Linked DNA regions of Homo sapiens: all the other regions are linked to region 1. Evidence: promoter capture Hi-C in 16 types of primary human blood cells and fetal thymus (Javierre and others, 2016). All regions are on one chromosome and are shown on one strand. Each heading gives the region's core, a stretch centred on a gene start or on the middle of the fragment in contact. The rest is flanking DNA. Distances are from core to core; before and after follow the strand shown. Region 1 holds the start of BOD1 (biorientation of chromosomes in cell division 1). Region 2 overlaps CPEB4 (cytoplasmic polyadenylation element binding protein 4). Region 3 holds the start of C5orf47 (chromosome 5 open reading frame 47). Region 4 overlaps CPEB4 (cytoplasmic polyadenylation element binding protein 4). Region 5 overlaps CPEB4 (cytoplasmic polyadenylation element binding protein 4). Region 6 overlaps CPEB4 (cytoplasmic polyadenylation element binding protein 4).

What was found. The method cuts DNA at HindIII sites, captures the fragments that hold promoters and counts their contacts. A CHiCAGO score of 5 or more calls a contact.
Region 2: a fragment that was not itself captured here is called in contact with the fragment with the promoter of BOD1 in region 1 in 16 of 17 cell types (total B cells, neutrophils, naive B cells and 13 more); the score reaches 14.1 in total B cells.
Region 3: a contact is called between a fragment that was not itself captured here and the fragment with the promoter of BOD1 in region 1, in 17 of 17 cell types (activated CD4 T cells, naive CD8 T cells, neutrophils and 14 more). The highest score is 18.4, in activated CD4 T cells.
Region 4: a fragment that was not itself captured here is called in contact with the fragment with the promoter of BOD1 in region 1 in 17 of 17 cell types (total B cells, naive B cells, neutrophils and 14 more); the score reaches 20.3 in total B cells.
Region 5: a contact is called between a fragment that was not itself captured here and the fragment with the promoter of BOD1 in region 1, in 17 of 17 cell types (naive CD8 T cells, total CD8 T cells, activated CD4 T cells and 14 more). The highest score is 53.8, in naive CD8 T cells.
Region 6: a contact is called between a fragment that was not itself captured here and the fragment with the promoter of BOD1 in region 1, in 17 of 17 cell types (neutrophils, monocytes, non-activated CD4 T cells and 14 more). The highest score is 37.6, in neutrophils.

Annotation. Positions count from the first base shown.
Region 1 is chr5:173,615,274-173,618,205 of GRCh38, reverse strand. BOD1 (biorientation of chromosomes in cell division 1) reads left to right here and starts at 1,556. Exons shown (of 4, transcript NM_138369.3): 1 at 1,556-2,006. The coding sequence starts at 1,770. RefSeq lists enhancers at 1,280-1,359, 1,380-1,639 and silencers at 1,620-1,689, 1,700-1,749. The HindIII fragment of the contact is 8,451 bases long and covers 1-2,932 here.
Region 2 is chr5:173,898,526-173,901,942 of GRCh38, reverse strand. The region is part of intron 1 of CPEB4 (cytoplasmic polyadenylation element binding protein 4); the gene reads right to left. Among named protein-coding and RNA genes, the nearest start is that of CPEB4, 12 kb to the right of the region's middle. RefSeq lists a silencer at 1-217. The HindIII fragment of the contact is 888 bases long and covers 963-1,850 here.
Region 3 is chr5:173,987,949-173,990,955 of GRCh38, reverse strand. C5orf47 (chromosome 5 open reading frame 47) reads right to left here and starts at 1,786. Exons shown (of 5, transcript NM_001144954.2): 1 at 1,368-1,786. The coding sequence starts at 1,692. The HindIII fragment of the contact is 5,296 bases long and covers 1-3,007 here.
Region 4 is chr5:173,936,884-173,939,955 of GRCh38, reverse strand. All of the region lies in intron 3 of CPEB4 (cytoplasmic polyadenylation element binding protein 4), which reads right to left. Among named protein-coding and RNA genes, the nearest start is that of CPEB4, 50 kb to the right of the region's middle. The HindIII fragment of the contact is 5,398 bases long and covers 1-3,072 here.
Region 5 is chr5:173,921,074-173,924,468 of GRCh38, reverse strand. All of the region lies in intron 2 of CPEB4 (cytoplasmic polyadenylation element binding protein 4), which reads right to left. Among named protein-coding and RNA genes, the nearest start is that of CPEB4, 34 kb to the right of the region's middle. The HindIII fragment of the contact is 6,186 bases long and covers 1-3,395 here.
Region 6 is chr5:173,961,426-173,964,416 of GRCh38, reverse strand. It overlaps CPEB4 (cytoplasmic polyadenylation element binding protein 4), which reads right to left. Exons shown (of 10, transcript NM_030627.4): 10 at 2,437-2,991. Among named protein-coding and RNA genes, the nearest start is that of C5orf47, 26 kb to the left of the region's middle. RefSeq lists enhancers at 4-886, 1-980. The HindIII fragment of the contact is 861 bases long and covers 1,021-1,881 here.

The sequences.
Region 1 (2,932 bases), core at 307-2,806:
GTTAGAGGATGAGTATAATCCAACACCTGAATGTTTCTTTTGAGGGTTAATTTAAACTCTCTTGGACAGGTGTGGTGGCTCACACCTGTAATCCCAGCACTTTGGGAGGCTGAGGCGGGTAGATCACTTGAGGTCAGGAATTCAAGACCAGCCTGGCCAACATGGTGAAACCCCCATCTCTACTAAAAATACTAAAATTAGCCAGGTATGGTGGCATGCGCCTGTAATCCCAGCTACTCGGGAGGCTGAGGCAGGAGAATTGCTTGAACCCAGGAGGTGGAGGCTGCAGTGAGCCAAGATTGCACCACTGCACTCCAGCCTGGGCGATAGAGTGAGACTCTGTCTCAAAAAAAAAAAAGAAAAAAAAATTAAACTGTCTTGAGTACTAAATATTGGTGTGGAGAACATCCTGGATCTTTGCCAATTCTGCATCTTCGCAGGAGCCAAGGATATTGCAGAATTTGCTATTTACATCCCCTCTGCTGCTTGTGTAAGATGAGGAAACAACAATAGCAGACATAATTGCTGAGGTTGGGAGGGGGAGCTGAGCTAACAATAGGCAAAAGATGAAGGGAAGAGAGGATAATGGTGGCAGCTATAGGATTCCAATGGTGAATTGTGGCTACTTAAAAAAATCAGGATATAAAGCCTTACCTATTGTGGGATACCAACTAGCTCTCAGGATACCTCAGGCTAAAATGCAAGATTTAGATCCTCAAAACCTGGGTTCAAATCCTACTTTTCTACCTCTAGGTATGTGATTAGGTTAACAAACTTTCTTCTGCCTCCATTTCTACGTCTGTAAATAGCAATAATAGTAGTATGTATCTGCTTTTTTAAATTATCGTGAAGAAGTGCGTGGAAAGTGCATAGCATCACGCCTGACACTTTTCAATTATTCAATATTGGCTTATGATTGACAATATTTAATATTTGGGAGGAAATCCACACACATATAAGACAGACTTAAGGAAAACTTTTATTTTCTTCTTCACACTTTTCCGTTATTTTCCAATTTTCTAAAATGAGTATGCATTGCTATTAAAACCAAAAGGAGGGAAACTCACAAATTTCTGAACAATAGAAGTTTGACTGTTCCACTGTTTCCGGAATTTCCCGGAACATGTTGTTCAAGAAGGACGTGGGAGTGCATGCTGAAGCACAGATTGCTAGGTCTCGACCCGTAAATACTGGATAAAAATCTTTAAGAAATAATTCTGGTAATCTATACTTTTAATCAGCTCCACAGATGACTGTTATAATCGGGCACTGCTGGGACGTGTTGATTGAATGGGAAGTGAGCAGAGAGTGGGCGGGGAAGGCCTGGCGGGGAAGGCCTGGCGGGTTGCAGCGATCACGAGGCCTGCGCCTACAGTTCCCATATTACCCCGCGAAATCGCGACGAGCAAGCACGAACCCTGCCGGGAGTTGTAGTTTCTCTCGGCTAGGCCGCTGCCTATAAAGAACGCCGGAGATGGCCACAGAAAACTTCCCGCCCCACAATGCAAAGGTCAACGTTGACGCCATCTGGGGTGCGCCTGGAATCGAGCAGGCCGTTTCTGCCGCGTCCACCACAACCTCTGCTGTATCAGAGGGGGCCTTCGCCGCCGCCGCCCCCACCACCGCCCCTGCCGCCATCGCCACCTCCGCCGCTGCCGCCTTGGGGCCCTCCTCCTTCACCGCCCCCTTCACCACCTCTACACGTTCTAGGCCTTCTGTCCTGGAGAAGAAGCTATAGTCGTTCTCCCTTGTGGGCCCGGGGCGCAGCCATGGCGGACGGCGGCGGCGGCGGGGGAACTGGCGCGGTGGGCGGCGGCGGAACTAGCCAGGCCTCTGCCGGGGCAGCGACTGGCGCTACTGGGGCCAGCGGGGGCGGTGGCCCCATCAACCCGGCCTCGCTGCCTCCCGGCGACCCGCAGCTCATCGCTCTCATCGTGGAGCAGCTCAAGAGCCGGGGCCTTTTTGACAGCTTCCGCCGGGACTGCCTGGCCGACGTGGACACCAAGGTAGCTGCGGCCGCCTGGGCGTTGGGGAGCGGGGCTGCACGTGAGGCCGCCGGGTGGCAGCTTTGATTTTCGAAAGCCGAGAGCAAAACAAAAGATAGCTTAGAAATCTCAGCGGTGAGGTCTTACACCGCTTGGGGCAGTACGGAGAGCTTTCTGAGCGATGCACACGTGGGTTCCTGCCTGATACATTTACTACTAGTTGTGATTTTACCCAGTCCCTTCTCCGAACTTGGGGTTTCAATGTGGGTTTTAGAGCCTAGACCGTATCATTCCCAAGATGGAACTCCTCTGAGGCCCTTAATAACAAACTTCGAAACCAAGTAGATAAGCAAGCGTGCTTTAGAATTTCCACCTGTTCCGTACTCACCACTGAGAAGCTGGCATTAAACACAATGATTTGAACACACAGTCATCACCATTTTATAGCTGTTTATTCCTTTTCTCTAGCTCATTGTTTTGCAGACTAGTACGGCGTTGAATTAAGATAAATTGTAGAAACAGCACCCTTATTTTGCACTTCATCATTGATAAAAGGAGATTTGGTGCCTAGTTGAGATCCTAATGCCATTGGTCAGTCCCACCAGTAAAACGCTATTTCACTTTACCTACTCGTCAGGGTGGTTTGGATTCAATGAAATAATGGGTGTTAAGTATCAGACATACAGTAGTTGCTGGAATGTTCATTTTCTTCCTTTTCAAAACTTGTCTAGCCACGACTGTGGTTGTAGGTTAGGAGACCCTGTCACTGGACTCCTGCAGGGTAGTGATTTCTCCTACCAGAGCCTGTCATGGAAACATTTTGCTTACCTCACAGCAAGATTGTGAGCTTAGAATTAGACCTTAAGATAGGGAAAAACGTAGTCTGTTTATTCGTTGAACGTTTATTGGCCTCTAGTTGCCAAGCTGTGCGATTACAGGAATAAGTC
Region 2 (3,417 bases), core at 157-2,656, 280 kb before region 1:
ATCCCACAAGATAGTGATAAGCTCTGTATGACAGAGCTTATACTATCACCATGCGCCATGAGCTTCACTCATTTTCATATCCACAGCTTGTAGCATGCCGTAAAGCCATCGCCACTGATATAGAAAGTGGCTAACATGTTCCTCCTGGCTCTGTGTTGTGCATCTTACATGAATTACATAACATTTACATATATTAGTTCCTCACAACCATCATATGAAGTCAGTACTGTCATTTATTTTCCCCATCGTAGGCAAATGAAGCTAGGAGAAGTTAACTAATTGCCCTACAAAGTCACACAGTAAGTGGTCGAGTCTGACTTCAGAGCAGATGTTCAGGAAAAGTGGTTTAAGTGAAGTTTTGTTTGGGCCTAGAATTTTTGCTCTATTATTACCTGCCAGGTATGAAATCCTTCACTATATATACGTGGCCTGAATGAAGACAACGAGCATCAGAGATTAAAGTTAAAGTGGTAATTATCTGAAGCAGGAGGGACCACATTTAACAGCATCTCATATTTCTTTGCAAGTTCCCTCTTCAATCAGTACTTTTTCATTATAGCTCCTGTAATGAAGGTAGAGTCTAACAGATCTTAGGTTACCACATGTTCCCTAATAGAATTATGATCTACAACTAAATGAATGAATGTCTTCAGTGTATTACCTTGGATCAACAGCTCCATTTGGTTGCCATGTTAATTGACAAATAAGATCTCTCCAGAAAGCCTCTGAGAACATTTTTTATTGCACCTTTACTAAATAAATCACATTCATTTTGAGCATTATAAATCCTTAAAATGATAAACATTTCTTGTCATCACTTATTTGTATTAAAAAACCAAATGACCATTCTAGGCTTGATTAGTCAGTCAGTTCCTGAATCAATAGACCTTTTCTTCTTCTTGACAATTTGTTCATACTAATCTTGCCTAGCAGAGAGAAATAATTAAAATCTATCACAAGCTTTGATACTTGTGATACTAAGTATCAAACATACTAAGCAAGTGATCTTGATGCTGCAATATCATTGAACCTTAATTTCATCAGCAAAACGAGGATAATAGCACCTCCCTTATAAATCTGTAGTGAAAAGCCAGTGAGATAAGGTATATGGGCAGCAGGAGCACAAAGCATGGCGGTTAGTGAACTCATTCAATAAACATTTCTCTGCCCCTTCTATGGTGCAATGAAAAAAAGCATGAAACTCACATTTTAAATTAGATATCGGTTGTATCTGAATAAGTCAGTGATTCTGTGCTATTTTCTATAACCTGTTTTCATAGAGATAATCAAAATATGTTCAAACCTATGACCCCAAAACTATCAGTATAAGACTTCTCCCTAATAAACTATTCAGGGCAAGAAGTCATTAGTTCAAGGAAAGCAGGTAAACAATACTAACACTCAGCCTTGAGGAATGAAGTTATTTAGACCTCAACTGGCTGTTAGAGTTCCTGTTCTCCATGTCTGCTAGGTCTGAGCAGGGTCCGGCGTCAGCAGGGAGAGGGGTCCACCCTAATGTACAACTTTTTTTTTTTTTGAGACAGAGTTCCGCTGTTGTTGTCCAGGCTGGAGTGCAATGGCGCGATCTCGGCTCACTGCAACCTCTGCCTCCTGGGTTCAAGTGATTATTCTGCCTCAGCCTCCAGAATAGCTGGGACTACAGGCGCCCGCCACCACACCAGGCTAATTTTGTATTTTTAGTAGAGATGGGGTTTCTCCATATTGGTCAGGCTGGTCTCGAACTCCCGACCTCAGGTGATCCGCCCACCTCAGCCTCTCGCAGTGCTGGGATTACAGGCGTGAGCCACCACACCTGGCCAATGCACAACCTTTATTCCTAAACTGAAGCTTATGTCTTGTAACCCTCGACATCTCTTCTGTGAGCCTTGACAGTGATCTCAAAAGGCAGCTTGTGCCCAGCCTCCACATTTCCAGACTCTCACAACACCCCCCGACCCCCATCCACAGTTCTCCAGAATCTCCTGGGCAGAAGGCACTCCTCAACACTCAAGCACAAAGAGGAGGTCACTGGCCAGTGCACTTCAGGAGCAGAAGTATCACGTTTGCCATAGCTAAGCATCCTCAGCCCATGGCCCTTCAAAAGCATCAAACATTTGTGCACTGAAAGCAAGCAAGAAATGTAAAAAGTTGATGCAGTCTAAAAGTCTGCAAGGGACCCCAAACCTCTACATTCCTCTTAAAAAACAGAAAAACAAAAAAGACAGCAACCATAAAAGCTCAGTCCTGTCCTGTTCTCTCACTCATCTTTCCTTTCAGAGGTCTTGCCCACAAGTCCACAGAAGTGTGAACCTAGAGAAAGGATAAGATGAAGGGAGGAAAACGGTATACTCTCCTCCCAAATTTCGAATCACTAGCTGGTATTTGGGTGCTTTAACTGGATCTCTTATTTTTCTATGTTACAGAAAGAGAAGATGAAGCCAACAGTGGTCCACCACTATTGGCACCAGGTTGAGCAGTGAAACAGACTGAGCAGGTACAACAGAAATGTGGGCCTTGCTTCAGTTTCTCACTACCCTTCTTTAAAAAAACAACTTGAAAAAAATTTTAATGTTTTCTCTTAAAGACTCCTCTAGAGACACATACTGAACCATTTACAGATGAAATAATATGATATGAAGCAATTGCTTCAAAATAATACAAATGGGGAGAGAGAGGATTAAGGGTATAGATGAAACAAGATTGTCCAGGAGCTGATAATTGTTGAAGCCAGGTGACACATACATGGGAGTTCACTAGACTATTCTGTCTACCATGGAATATATTTAAATTTTTCCATAATAAAAATTTAAGAAGACATGGGTCAGGGGGTGCTTTACCAAGAGAGAAAAAAAATATCACCAGTTGGTCACTTTCAGCAGTGTTCAAGAAAATCAGTGTGTCATCTAGCCTCAGTCCCACCATTATTTAAGTATAGTGACTTTAGGAATTGTATTTTATTTATTTAAAATTAAGTTCAGGCCAGGTGCGGTGGCTCACGCCTATAATCCCAGCACTTCCGGAGGCCAAAGCGAGCGGATCACCTGAGGTCAAGAGTTCGAGACCAGCCTGGCCAACATGGTGAACTAAAAGGTACAAAAATTAGATGGGCCTGGTGGCACATGCCTGTAGTCCCAGCTACTGGAGAGGCTGAGGCACGAGAATTGCTTAAACCCAGGAGGTGGTGGTTGCTGTGAACCAAGATCGCGCTACTGCACTCTAGTCTGGGCAACAGAATGAGACCTTGTCTCAAAAAATAAAATTAAGTTCAAATTATCACACACCAGTTACACACGGGTTTTCAGATTTTAAGAAATTGTGCTATATTTTGAATAAAACTTTGACTTAATATTTCTGTTTGATGAGTTGCTTTCTTAAAACAATAGAATCTTCTAGAAGCCAAATATTAGACATATTTCA
Region 3 (3,007 bases), core at 460-2,959, 370 kb before region 1:
TGATGGTTGAATATGTGAACTAAGCATGCAAAACGGGTGAATTGTATGCACTGTGAACTATAGTTTAATAAAGCTGTTATTCCGTAAGTACAAGTGATGGAAATGTTCTATATCTTAATTATGGTGGCAGTTACTAGGGTGTGTATAAATCTGTCAAACCTCTTCGAAACATACGTAAATTAATCCTCAGTAAAGCTGACTTAGAAAAACCAAGAGAGGGCCTGGCGCGGTGGCTCACGCCTGTAATCCCAACACTTTGGGAGGCTGAGGCGGGTGGATCACCTGAGGTCAAGATTTCGAGATCAACCTGGTCAACATGGTGAAACCCCATCCCTACTAAAAATAGAAAAAAATTAGCTGGGCATTGGTGGCAGGTGCCTGTAATCTCAGCTACCTGGGAGGCTGAGGCAGGAGAATCGCTTGAACCAGGGGAGCGTAGGTTGCAGTGACCCAAGATCACGTCATTGCACTCTAGTCTGGGCAACAGGGCAAGACTCCATCTCAAAAAAAAGAAAGAAAAAGAAAAACCAAGAAAGGCTTGGCCCAGTGGCTCATGCATGTAATCCCAGGGCTGTGAGGCTGAGGCAGGAGGATCAGTTGGGCCCAGGAGTTCGAGACCAGCCTGGGTAACACAGGGAGACCCCCCCGCCCCCCATGTCTACAAAAGATAAAAAAAGTAGCTGGGCATGGAGGTGCCCACCTGTGGTCCCAGCTACTCGGGAGGCTGAGGTCAAGGCTGCGGTCAAGGCTGCAGTGAGCCTGTGATTGGACCACCACACTCCAGCCTGAGTGACACAGCAATACCCCGTCTCAAAAAAAAAAAAAAAAAATTGGCTTCCTATACACAGTGAGCATTTAGAGGGCATTTCGTAAAAAGAAACCCCATTTACAACAGCAAAGAAGATTAAATATTTAGGAATAAGTTGATCAAGACATATGCAAAACCTATGGGAGGATAATTTTTGAATTGAAGACATTTCCTGATTTAAACGTAAAGCTCATGCTGTTTTTAGCCAGGATGACTCAACAGCATCCGGAAGTCAATCCTCCAGGTGAGGGGGTTTGCGAAGTCAACGAATCTCACTCAGCTGGAACGGAAACACGCAGGCCAAAAGCCTCCGTGAGGGGGCCGTAAAGGCTCCATTCAACAACCTCTCCTCTTATGTCAGGTGCCCGTGCCGGCCACAGCTGGCCCTCTGAAGGGAATTACTGGGCTTCTCCTTCGCCCCTGCGCGTGCTCGCAACACGGCCTGACAGGAAAGCTGCCCCCAGCCTCCTGCGTGCCGCAAGATGGCGCCCAGCAGCTGAGCCCGCTCCGCCCCGTCCCGCCCCGCCGCGCCCGGTCCCGCCCTGCCCCGCTGCACCACCTGCACGCGCCGACTGTCTGGTGCCGCTCTGAACTCTCGATGCCCGCAGCTGGGAGGAGGCAGAGGCCGCAGCCTCCACACCAGGGGTCGTGGGGACCCTGAGCTGGGAACCGAGGGGCAGCTCGCTGCCACCCTGAACGCCCGCCACCGCCATTGCTTCCCTCGGCTTCTCCTGGCGACAGCCTGCCCCAGGCCCCTGACCCCAAAGGCCTTGAGCTCCACGGCCGCCCAGTTGCAGGACGCCACTGCACTGATGCGAGCCGAAGCGCGTCACATAGACGAAGCGCGCCGAGTCCTGCTCCCGACCCCGGCCTGCCGCCGCCATCGCAGCCTCAGTCAACGGCAGCCGGGCCCTCAGCAAACACGACGCCACAGGCGCCAGACTGCCCACTGTGCAGGCGAGGGATGCGGGAGCGGTTAGGGCCAGACCACCCTGCGGGGATTGGGGGGAGGGAGTTAGGGCCAGACCACCGCGTGAGGATTGGGGGGGGTTAGGACCAGACCACCCTGTGGGGATGGGGGGGACAAAGGGTTAGGGCCGGACCATGGCACCGCGATGAGGGGGACGGGTTTAGGGCCGGACCACCCCCCTAGGGATGCGGTGACAGGGTTAGGGCCAGACCACCGCGTGGGGATGGGGGGAGGGGGTTACGGCCGGACCACCTCGCAGGGATGGGGGTGGTGGGGTTAGGGCAGGACCACCCAGTAGGGATGGGGTGACGGGGTTAAGGCCGGATCACCACGTGGGGGTGGCGGGGACCACCATGCAGGGTGGGGCAGGGAAGTTAGGGCCAGACCACTGCTGGGGGGCTGGAGGGAGAAAGCTGGGCTTGAGGAGCGAGGCAGCCGGTCACTGCGTGGGCTGCAGGAGTAGGGGAAGGGCACGCTGCTGGGAGGTGAGAGGCCCAGGGGAGATGGAGGGAAGTGGGAAGAGGGCGGGTGTTGGGTTGGGGACGATGACGAGGTGCAGACCCCTCAGAAGAAATGAGCTACTCCAAGAAGAGGGTGGGAGAAAGGGACCAGGTCACTACTAGGGAGACGCCCCCATGCTTGGGTGCGGGAGGATTTCAGAGTGAGGAACCCACACGGGACTTGAGCAGCCTGGAGCATCAGCCACGTGACGCTGGGAGCCTGGGGGAGAACACAGAGCCCTTGGCTGCCGGAAGGTTCCAGTATGCCCTTGGCCTGGCAGGTGGTAGTGATGGAGCTGTGATCCCCAAGAGACACAGGGGTAGGGGGACAGGGGTCTGAGGCCCAAGCTGGTTAGGCACTGGCCAGCTGGGTTATTTGGGCAAGCCCTTTTCCCTCTCTCTCTCTTTTTCTTTCTTTTTTTTGAGACGGAGTCTCGCTCTGTCACTCAGGCTGGAGTGCAATGGTGCGATCTCGGCTCACTGTAACCTCCACGACCCAGATTCAAGCGATTCTCCTGCCTCAGCCTCCTGAGTAGCTGGGATTACGAGGATGTGCCACCACACCCCGCTTATTTTTGTATTTTTAGTAGAGGCCAGGTTTCACCATGTTGGCCAGGCTGGTCTTGAATTCCTAACCTCAGGTGATCCGCCAGCCTCCCAAAGTGCTGGGATTACAGGCGTGAGCCACCACACCCAGCCCCTTTCCTTCTCTGAGCCTCCATTGTCTTC
Region 4 (3,072 bases), core at 318-2,817, 320 kb before region 1:
TATTTTATTAGAGACATGGTTTTACCCTGTTGAACAGGCTGGTCTCAAACCCCCGAGCTCAGGCAATCTGCCCACTTCAGCCTCCCAAAGTGCTAGGATTACAGGCGTGAGCCACCGTGTCCAGCCTAGTTTTGATTTATAAAGTCCTCAATAATTTAATGTTCAGAACTAACAGGATTCAAGATTGTTAAAAAAAAAAAAAGGCTCAAAATATTATGGCCATAAATTTTTATAACTTCTGGATACCTGCTATTAGATCTATTGATATACTTTATTTCTAAAACGTCTTTACAGGATTGCTTACAAATGCTTCCTTTCCTTGTTATTAGCCCTATATGCAGAATCAAATTCCCTCTAGCAAAATGTTCCATTAATCTGTAATGCCAGACTTACGAAGAAGGTACAGAAAGACTTGTCAGGGCTCCCCTGACTTTCTCCCTCCCCATACATTTTATTATAAAAATAAAATATTATTTATCCCATAAAAAGTACTTTTTTCTCATTTGTTGCAACATTTGTAATAATCAAAAAGAAACAAAGTACCCACACATTCAAAAGAAGAAACACCTAGTAGGTGGCATTTGTATGTATGTATGTATGTATGTATGTATGTACGTATTTCAAAGGAGCAACCCTATTAACTGAGCATGTGGCATTTTTAAATGTGGCTCACGTTCATGTACCTAAAGCTCTCTAAGATGCTGGCCTGCATGCAGTGTCTAAGTGTGTATTGTAGAATCCTTATTGTGTACATTTAAAAATAAAGAAAATATAAATAGATATGTGGGACTATGCATAAAATCTTTTTACTTTTTATTTTATTTTTATTTTTATAGAGATGGGGTTTTGCCATGTTGCCCAGGCTGGTCTCAACTCCTGGGCTCAAGAAATCCATCCACCTGGGCCTCCCCAAGTGCTAGGATTGTAAGCATGAGCCATTGCGCCTGGCCATGAAATACTTTTTTCTAGAAACAACCACAAGAACCTTTGGAGAGAGAAACTTCTAGAAAGAGGAAAGAAGGCATTCACTTCTTGTTTTATCCCTTTTTGTACCATTTGAATTTATTATTATTGCATATGCTATATTGCTATATTTGTTAATGAACCCTTTTTGGTTTTCTCCTTGGTACTAATATTAAAAATGAACAAATGACATTATTACTTTCATACAAAAGCATACTTTCCTACATGACAGCACCTAATCAATTCTGTCACGAATAGGACTTTAGGCCATGAAGGATAAGATATTACTATGTTTTAGTGGACAATGAAAAAACGGATCCTATTCGGGTTACGCTGATCTACCTTAGGCTCTCCAACTGTGCACCTCTCTCTGCCCCAAGGTGAGAAGACAAATAGCAATTCTATCTGGAAAAAAAAGGGGGGTGTAGCTCAGATGATAAGATGTTATCAGATAACTGGCTTCTTTTGGCTAGGCATGGTGGCTAACACCTATAACCCCAGCACTTTGGGAGGTTGAGGTGGGCAGATCATTTGAGGTCAGGAGTTCGAGACCAGCCTGGCCAATATGGTAAAACCCTGTCTATACTAAAAATATAAAAATTAGCTGGGTGTGGTGGCACATGCCTGTAATCGCAGCTACTTGGTAGGCTAAGGCAGGAGAATTGCTTCAACCCGGGAGGTAAAGATTGCAGTGAGCTGAGATTGCACCACCGCACTCCAGCCTGGGCAACAGAGCGAGATTCCGTCTCAAAACAGTACAAAACAAAACAAAACAACCTGACTTTTCCAGGAGGACTAAAAGAAAATATATGGGGAGAGGAGTGTAGAAATTAGCCAAATTAGTAAATCAGTTGAAAAGATATAAATCAAAGGCTTGAAGCTAAAAGGAATTAATCTGTGAACAAAAGAATAAAGATGGTAGAACCAAAAAGCAGACACAATCATCACAAAGACCAAAGCATACGATTCAACAAAGATGCAAAGAACCATTTTAAATGATTTTATAAATTAATCCCTAATTTAATAGGCTCACTGCCACAAAATTAATTTACATTTGCTTTATAGTTAGAAATTCCTATCACATTGGCTTATGCTTATATTAGCTTGTTGGTACAACAACATTCAAAGAATGTTCCTAAGATATGATAAAGACACTATTATTTGTAAGGCCTACCTTAGAAAAGAGCAGAGAATGCAACTCTAGTTTCCTTATGTCCCTAACCCTCAGTTTCTTTATTTATAAAAATGGGAAGCAAATGAGAGAATAATGAAAAACACAATGTGTATATGTAATGGTCAGTCACATACTCAATAAATAATCTCCCTTTCCCAAAAGTAAATTCATATGCATATATTCTGAGTATGATCTTCAACAATTATTCTCAGCTTTTCATTAGCATTTTAAGGTTAACAATTGTAGAGCACTTTAGAGTTTACAGTTTGTTTTCATATTATCTTTTCAATGAAGGGATCTTTCAACATGCTTATTATTGTAGCAACTAGAACCATATTACACACATTTTCAGTAAGTGATCATCATCTACATTTCTCTTGAGTAAATTACACCTTCCTTTTTGATAGATTTCTTCCCCCTCCCAAGCAAACAATCTTCCTCTTTTCATTCCAAAAAACTATAATTAAGAGATGTTGGGCCGGGTGAGGTGACTCACACCTGTAATCCCAGCACTTTGGAAGGCCGAGGCAGGCCGATCACTTGAGATCAGGAGTTCGAGACCAGCCTGGCCAACATTGTAAAACCCCATCTCTACTAAGAATACAAAAATTAGCTGGGCATGGTGGCAGGTGCCTGTAATCTCAGCTACTTGGGAGGGTGAGGCAGGACAATTGCTTGAACCTGGGAGATGGAGGCTACAGTGAGCCGAGATGGAGCCACTGCACTCCAGCCTGGATCAGACTGGAGTCTGGATCAGTCCAGAACAGACTTCATCTCAAAAAAAAAAAAAAAAAAAAAAGGAAAGAAATGTTGTTCTGTGCTACCCTTAATAGATCTCTTACTAATCACTTCCTCAAAGGAAAGAAAATACATATATGAGTTGTTAAAACTTAACACGTTTTTTTTGCTCTATAACTTTCTCCTGCCACAAGGTT
Region 5 (3,395 bases), core at 863-3,362, 310 kb before region 1:
TGGAACCTTGGAAAAGGGAGGGGCAAATCTGGGGGATATTTCAGCTTCAGAAAAATGAGAATTTGCTAGTGTCCTTGGTTAAAAACAGGGATATAAGTCTTCTCAGGAAGAGAGAAAAGAACAAAACCTAACCCCTTACTTTCATCAAAGCCAAACTGGCAAAGATACATAATAATTTTAATGAAAACTTCAAAAATTCAACCTAAAATTTTTCTTTTCAATAAAACCAGAGAGGATCTTCATTTTGAACCAAAACCCCAAATTTAATGTTTCAATTGTAATATGATGATTGAAAAACAGATTGTAGTAGTGGCAAAAGAAAATAACACTTATCTGTAAGATGGGAGAGGTCAATGGAATATGTTTCTACAGATGGAGGAAGGTTTCATAGAAGGGAAGGACTGCTTTGACTACAACTCGGGGCAGGTGCGAAGCTGCAAGATCTAAAAGCATCTAAGAATTTCAGGCAGAAGGGAATGTCCAGAGAGAAACTAGTAAGAAGCTGACCCAATTAAGGAATTCAAAAGATTTCCTACTGCCAGTAAAGCTAACAACAAACCAGCAAGCAGGAAGGCTATTTTTATCCTTGCCAGAAGCCTTCTGACTCTAGATGCTACATTTAGAGGACAGAGCAACAAGATAACTTGCCTTAAGAGGATGTTATGATACCAGAGATTAATGGCAATTTTTTAAGCTCTAAAAAACTCGGCAAAACTAGGTGTAGTTTTTGTCCAAGCTAAGCCAGCCAAAGTCAGTTGGAAAAAAAAAGGTGAAAAAAATATAATGGAAAGAAAAGTGGAAAAACAGACCAAGTAGTAGAAAAAATTAAAGCAATCCAGAAAAAAAGCCAAGGCAGTAAATTAAAATTCTCCTACCTTGCAAAAAGTTTGCTTAAAAGAAGCATGTGTTACAAGAGACATATATTAAAAGAACCAATGAATAAAGAACTGGCCCCAAGGTGAAAATAATTTTGACAAATGGCTCTCTGTGCTGACATGAACATAAAAAAACACCAAGATAAACTTATGAAATCTCTAGGGACCACAAGCTAAGTCAGTGTAAATGATTGAGAACTTTAGAGATAAGAGAGAGAAGCCACAAGAGATCTAATTAGACTTTTCTCTGACTACAGAAACTAAAGAGAATTAAGACTGAGTTTCTTATTTATAACCATTATTTTATAAAATAGAATGCTACTACACTGATAAAAAGTTGCATTAAAACTGTTTACTGAAGTCCAAACCCCAAAAAGCAATCTGCAAAGTCACTAGTTGGCTTTCTGCATACAGACCTATCTATCATTAACTCTAGTCACTTACTTAACATGAATTCTGACAACTTTTCTGAACCTTAATGAAAAATGGACTTGCATTTTATATCTGATATAAGAATTTCACCTTTTGTTATTTCTCAGAAGGCCCACTACCTATTTTCTCCTATCAATACTCTGGGTTCTTACTTTTCCTCTTATTAATCTTCTAAATTAAATAATAAACAGGATATTCAAAGATGTCTGGTAATTATTTGGAAAATAAGCTGCATGAAGCCAGGAACCTTTGTTTTTAGTTAGTCCCTGATATATCCCAACAACCATAGTACCTGGTGCACAGTAGATGCCTGATGTATATTTGTTGTATGAATGGCCTCAGACAGCTCTGGACTTTACATATACATCCAAAGCAGCGCAAAAGTTGGGGGTGGGAAGCGAAGGAAGTGTATCTGAATCACATGAAGAATGCACATGCTTAAGTCCCATGGCAAATCTGGTGAATCAGAATCAGGGAAGAGAACAAGTCAACTTGGAAAAGTTTCCACTCCCAATAAGGCACACTTCAGTATGAAACCAGCCAACTGTGATGTGTGAATCTTTCATAGATTATGATAAAATACAGATTTTTAAATTTTGTACCATCTCCTAAATTGAAATTAAGAAATCTTGGCCAGGCATGATGGCTCATGTCTGTAATCCCAGCACTTTGGGAGGCCAAGGCAGGTGAATTGCTTGAGCCCAGGAGTTTGAGACCAGCCTAGGCAACATGGCAAAGCCCCATTTCTGCAAAAAATACAGAAATTAGCCAGGTGCACTGGCAGGCACCTGTAGTTCCAGCTACTTGGGAGGCTGAAGTGGGAGGAGCGTTTGAGCCCAGGAGGCGGAGGCTGCAGTGAGCCAAGATTGTGCCACTGCACTCCAGGATGGACAACAGAGCTAGACCCTGTCTCAAAAAAGAAAGAAAGAAAGAGAAAGAGAAAAAAAAATTGAATGCCTACCCTCTGTCAAAGCATACTAGACAAAAATGTTTCCATTTTCTTATGTTTGTTTCCTTCTCAGAGGCTACACAATAAATACTCAGGCCATTGAACCAGGAGCCAGAAGCTGTGTGTTCCTCCTATATTGACCCTTGTAGGTACCAGGAATCTGAGTGACTTTACAGAAGCTGTTGCATCTTTGGGATCTCCAATTCTTTTCAACTGTAAAATGAAGACCACAAAACTCACATAACAGGTTACCGTAAGGATCTGGGTTACAAATAATTCTCAGAAGGGGCACTGAATAAAAGAGAAATGGTATCAGAGGTAAGCACCCTTTCACTTGAAACTGGTTAATGCTGCTTCCCATACAGAATGTCCAGGTCTACCTCGAAAAGGAAAAATGCAGCACAGCATCAAAACTATCCTTCAATCTACCTGGCACATTGAATATGTTCAAATATTTGTGGAGGTGGAGTATAAGCAGAAGCTAAAATATAAGACACTTCCAAACCATGTGGCTTAAAGAGGCTTTAGTAGCACTTGCCTCCCCCTCCTAACAAGAACTGCCATGTTATACAACACGGAGTGCACCCATCTCGTCAGATGGCTCCCTCTACCCCCTGGCATCATGCAGGATGTAGCCTCAGCAGCCCATATTCTTAACCCTGCTACAAAGGAATAAAGATGGCTTCAGATGTCAGGAAGCTCCAAAATGCTACTTGGTGGAGAGGACAATTTAGGAGAGCGTCAGTAGCCTCCTCACTCCTCCCTGTCCTCCTCCTCACCATTTCCTCTGTTAAATTCCTTTTTTATGTTATGTTCTTTTTTGTAACAAGGAGCATTCTAATGGCAAGAGTATAAAGCAGAAAAATTAGGGAAGTTCTCTAGAGCAGTATTTCATAATCTGTTGTAATAACTATTAAGACCTACTTTGATCAAAATATTTCAGAGAGGCTTTCCTCCATAATAATAACTGAAGACTCCTACCCCTGTCTCTACCCTAAGTAAAACAGAACAAAAACAAAAAAAAATCTTAATATCAGAAGGCTACTATGAACTCAGCAACACCTTTAAATGTATTTTAATTGCATTACATCAGCATCCACATGCTTTTGGAAGATAATCATGCATACACAAGTGACATC
Region 6 (2,991 bases), core at 202-2,701, 350 kb before region 1:
CTTCTGTCACCAAACACTCAAGGACCCACAGCACTTTTCCCTCAAACATGAAAGGGGAATTGTGCCTTTGAAGCGGCGTTGTGGTCTGGGGTAAGTACCCGAGGTTCGTCGTCTCGTGCCAGGGAAATCAACAACGCGGACATACAAGAAGTGAGTTTAACCCTGGAGGTTCAATAAGCAAAAGAAAGAGAATAGCTCTCTCTCTTAGGAGAGAGAGGGGCTCCCGGGTGGGACTTCCGGCTCCACAATGAAATGCATGGGATTTTATAGATGAGCTTGAGGAGGCGTGTCTGATTCACGTAGGGCCAGAGAGATTGGTCGGACCAGGCGTGACACTTGCATCACGCACAAAGAAGCTGGCCATCCCACCCTAATCTTTTATTATGCAGATGGGGGTCTCTACCTGGCCAACGCCATGTTGCCTGCCTTTCTACTGCACACATAGCGACAAAGAAAAGGAAGAGGGAGCCTCCATGTTGAACATGCCTGGCCCCCAGCTAGCCTTTTCCTGTTGGCACAGCTGCCGGCATTTACCTATGCAGGCTTCCAGCTTGCTTATTTATGTCTGCAGCTCGATTTTACAGGCTGCTCTTTGTTAGAAAAGAAATGATTTGGGGGCTGCTTTTTGTTAAAAGGGAAGCCTGAGGACTCTCTTACCCTCGCTAACCGCCTAAATAATTTCCTTTTAGCTCCTGTATCACCTTCATTCCTCCAAATAAGGAAGCGCCAGGTCTTTCTTGGATCCTAGCTAAAACATTCTTTGCAGCTTCACATAATTATTTTACCACCACCCCTCCCGGTTCTCTTCCTGGGTAACTGATTTCACGAGTTTAAAATGCCCTGCTGCCTTTGGTGGGTTCTGGGGAGTCACTCCTAGGTCTCACAGGGAGGTGGGAGAAGAGTTGAAAATAATCTCTTTAAAATGGTGACATTTGCTTGATCACATTGACATTTTTAGGGTATCAAAGCCGGGCTTCCTGAAATAGAACTCCGATGAAAAGGATAAAGAAAGCTCAAGCTTAGCTGCTGGCATTTGCGTGCACTGATTCACCACCTCCAGCCCAGCTACCCACAGGCAGTTTTTCCCTGACACTGAATCAAATTACACGCAATACTAAAGGCTGGAGGTTTGCTCACATTCTGATTTGGGATGCTGCTGTTCATTTTTAACTTCCCTGAGACAATGTGTACTTTTCCAACTCTGGTCACCACGCTGAATCACAATAAGACACTTTTTCCAGACAGCCAACAATGACACCCAGCTTGACTAGAGAAAGATGATAACCCAAAATATCCTGAGAAGACTCAAGGCACGGCAAAATAAAATGTTCTCTAATGAGGACGACTGAATTGGTATTGCTAGGTAAGAGTTCCTAGTGGGGCGCAAATGTTCATTTTCTAAATTCTTAGAATTTATTCAAAGCCAGTGGCGCCTATTCTCAAGAGAATCAGCGGGTGAGGGGTGCTGAGGGAAGTTTGCAAAAGAAAATTTTGAAGGAGGATATAGGAATGATGAGAAAGGGAGACAGCATATCATAGAATGGCAGATTCAAAGCACTAGCTGCTTGTCTCAAGTGGCATTTGAGGCACTCATGAGAAACAAGGGCTGGTCTGAGACAGTGAAAAGCATAATCAAAATAGCTTTATTGTGCAAAGTAACTTCTCTTTTTCTTTCTTCTGGGATGGTAGTAGAGGGAAGACGAATTAGGAGGATGCACTGGAACTAGGACAGGGCTTAGAAGCTACGTAAGTACCTAGAACTCCAGTAAAGTAGGTGTGGGCAATGAAAGCAGCTCTGAAAGTGGCTCACAAGTGGCAGGGCCAAGCACCCTTCCAGAACACATGTATGGATGCCAAAAAACAAAGTGGGGTTTCAAAGCTTCTTGAAACATACTAAAATGTTACAGTGGTATAGCCCAAAGTATGTTCCATGTGTTACCTGTAAACAGAATCTGTAGTCAGAGAAATTGGAGTGAGAGGGACACTTTCAACAAAGTAAATAGGTTTCTGGCTGGGCACGGTGGCTCACGCCTGTAATCCCAGCACTTTGGGAGGCCAAGGCGGGCGGATCACCTGAGGTCAGGAGTTCGAGACCAGCCTGACCAACATGGAGAAACCCCATCTCTACTAAAAATACAAAATTAGTTGGGCATGGTGGTGCATGCCTGTAATCCCAGCTACTTTGGAGGCTGAGGTAGGAGAATGGCTTGAACACGGGAGGCAGGGGTTGCAGTGAGCTGAGAGCACACCATTGCACTCACTCCAGCCTGGGCAACAAGAGCAAAACTCCATCTCAAAAAAATAAATAAATAAAATAAAATAAAATAAAATAAAATAAAAAAGATTTCTTCATTGTAGAATTTCTTGAAGTCTTAATAAGCTAATGTGCAAATGTGCATTATTTTGACTTTGCAAGAAACAAGGTGACCCATTTTCTAAGTGTATTTAATGGTAAAACTTTATTTTTTTTTGTCTTTTTCTTGTGGAAAGGACTATCCTAGTCCTCTGAAGATCACAGTCTGAAATATTAGAGTTTTGTCTTGTTTATTATTCGGTTATTACACATTTCAGAAAATAATTACTCCTTAAAAATTTCTAACTCACTGACACCTTCAGTATTCTTCAATTTTTAAAATCAGAGATTACTTTCCCCATGACTTTTGATCAAACTATTTCCCAAACTTAAAAAAAAAAAAAAATCCCTAGAAAAAGTACTTACTTTCTGATCTAGCTGTGGACACAAACACCCATTACCAAAAGGGGTTATGAAATGACTTGATTGTTAAGAGTGTGGTAGAGAATTTCCACTGTTTATTCATCTGGTTAGACAGTAAAAACAAAAGATAAAAATAAAAAGAATTTTCCTCGTTGGGTAGGTTTAGGCAATCAGTGAATGAAGAAATATAGCCCAGGAAGCCTCTTACACCCTTTCCAGACACACCATTCTGTGATTTAAAACACCCAAAGCAATGCACCTATGTAATTTCAAGA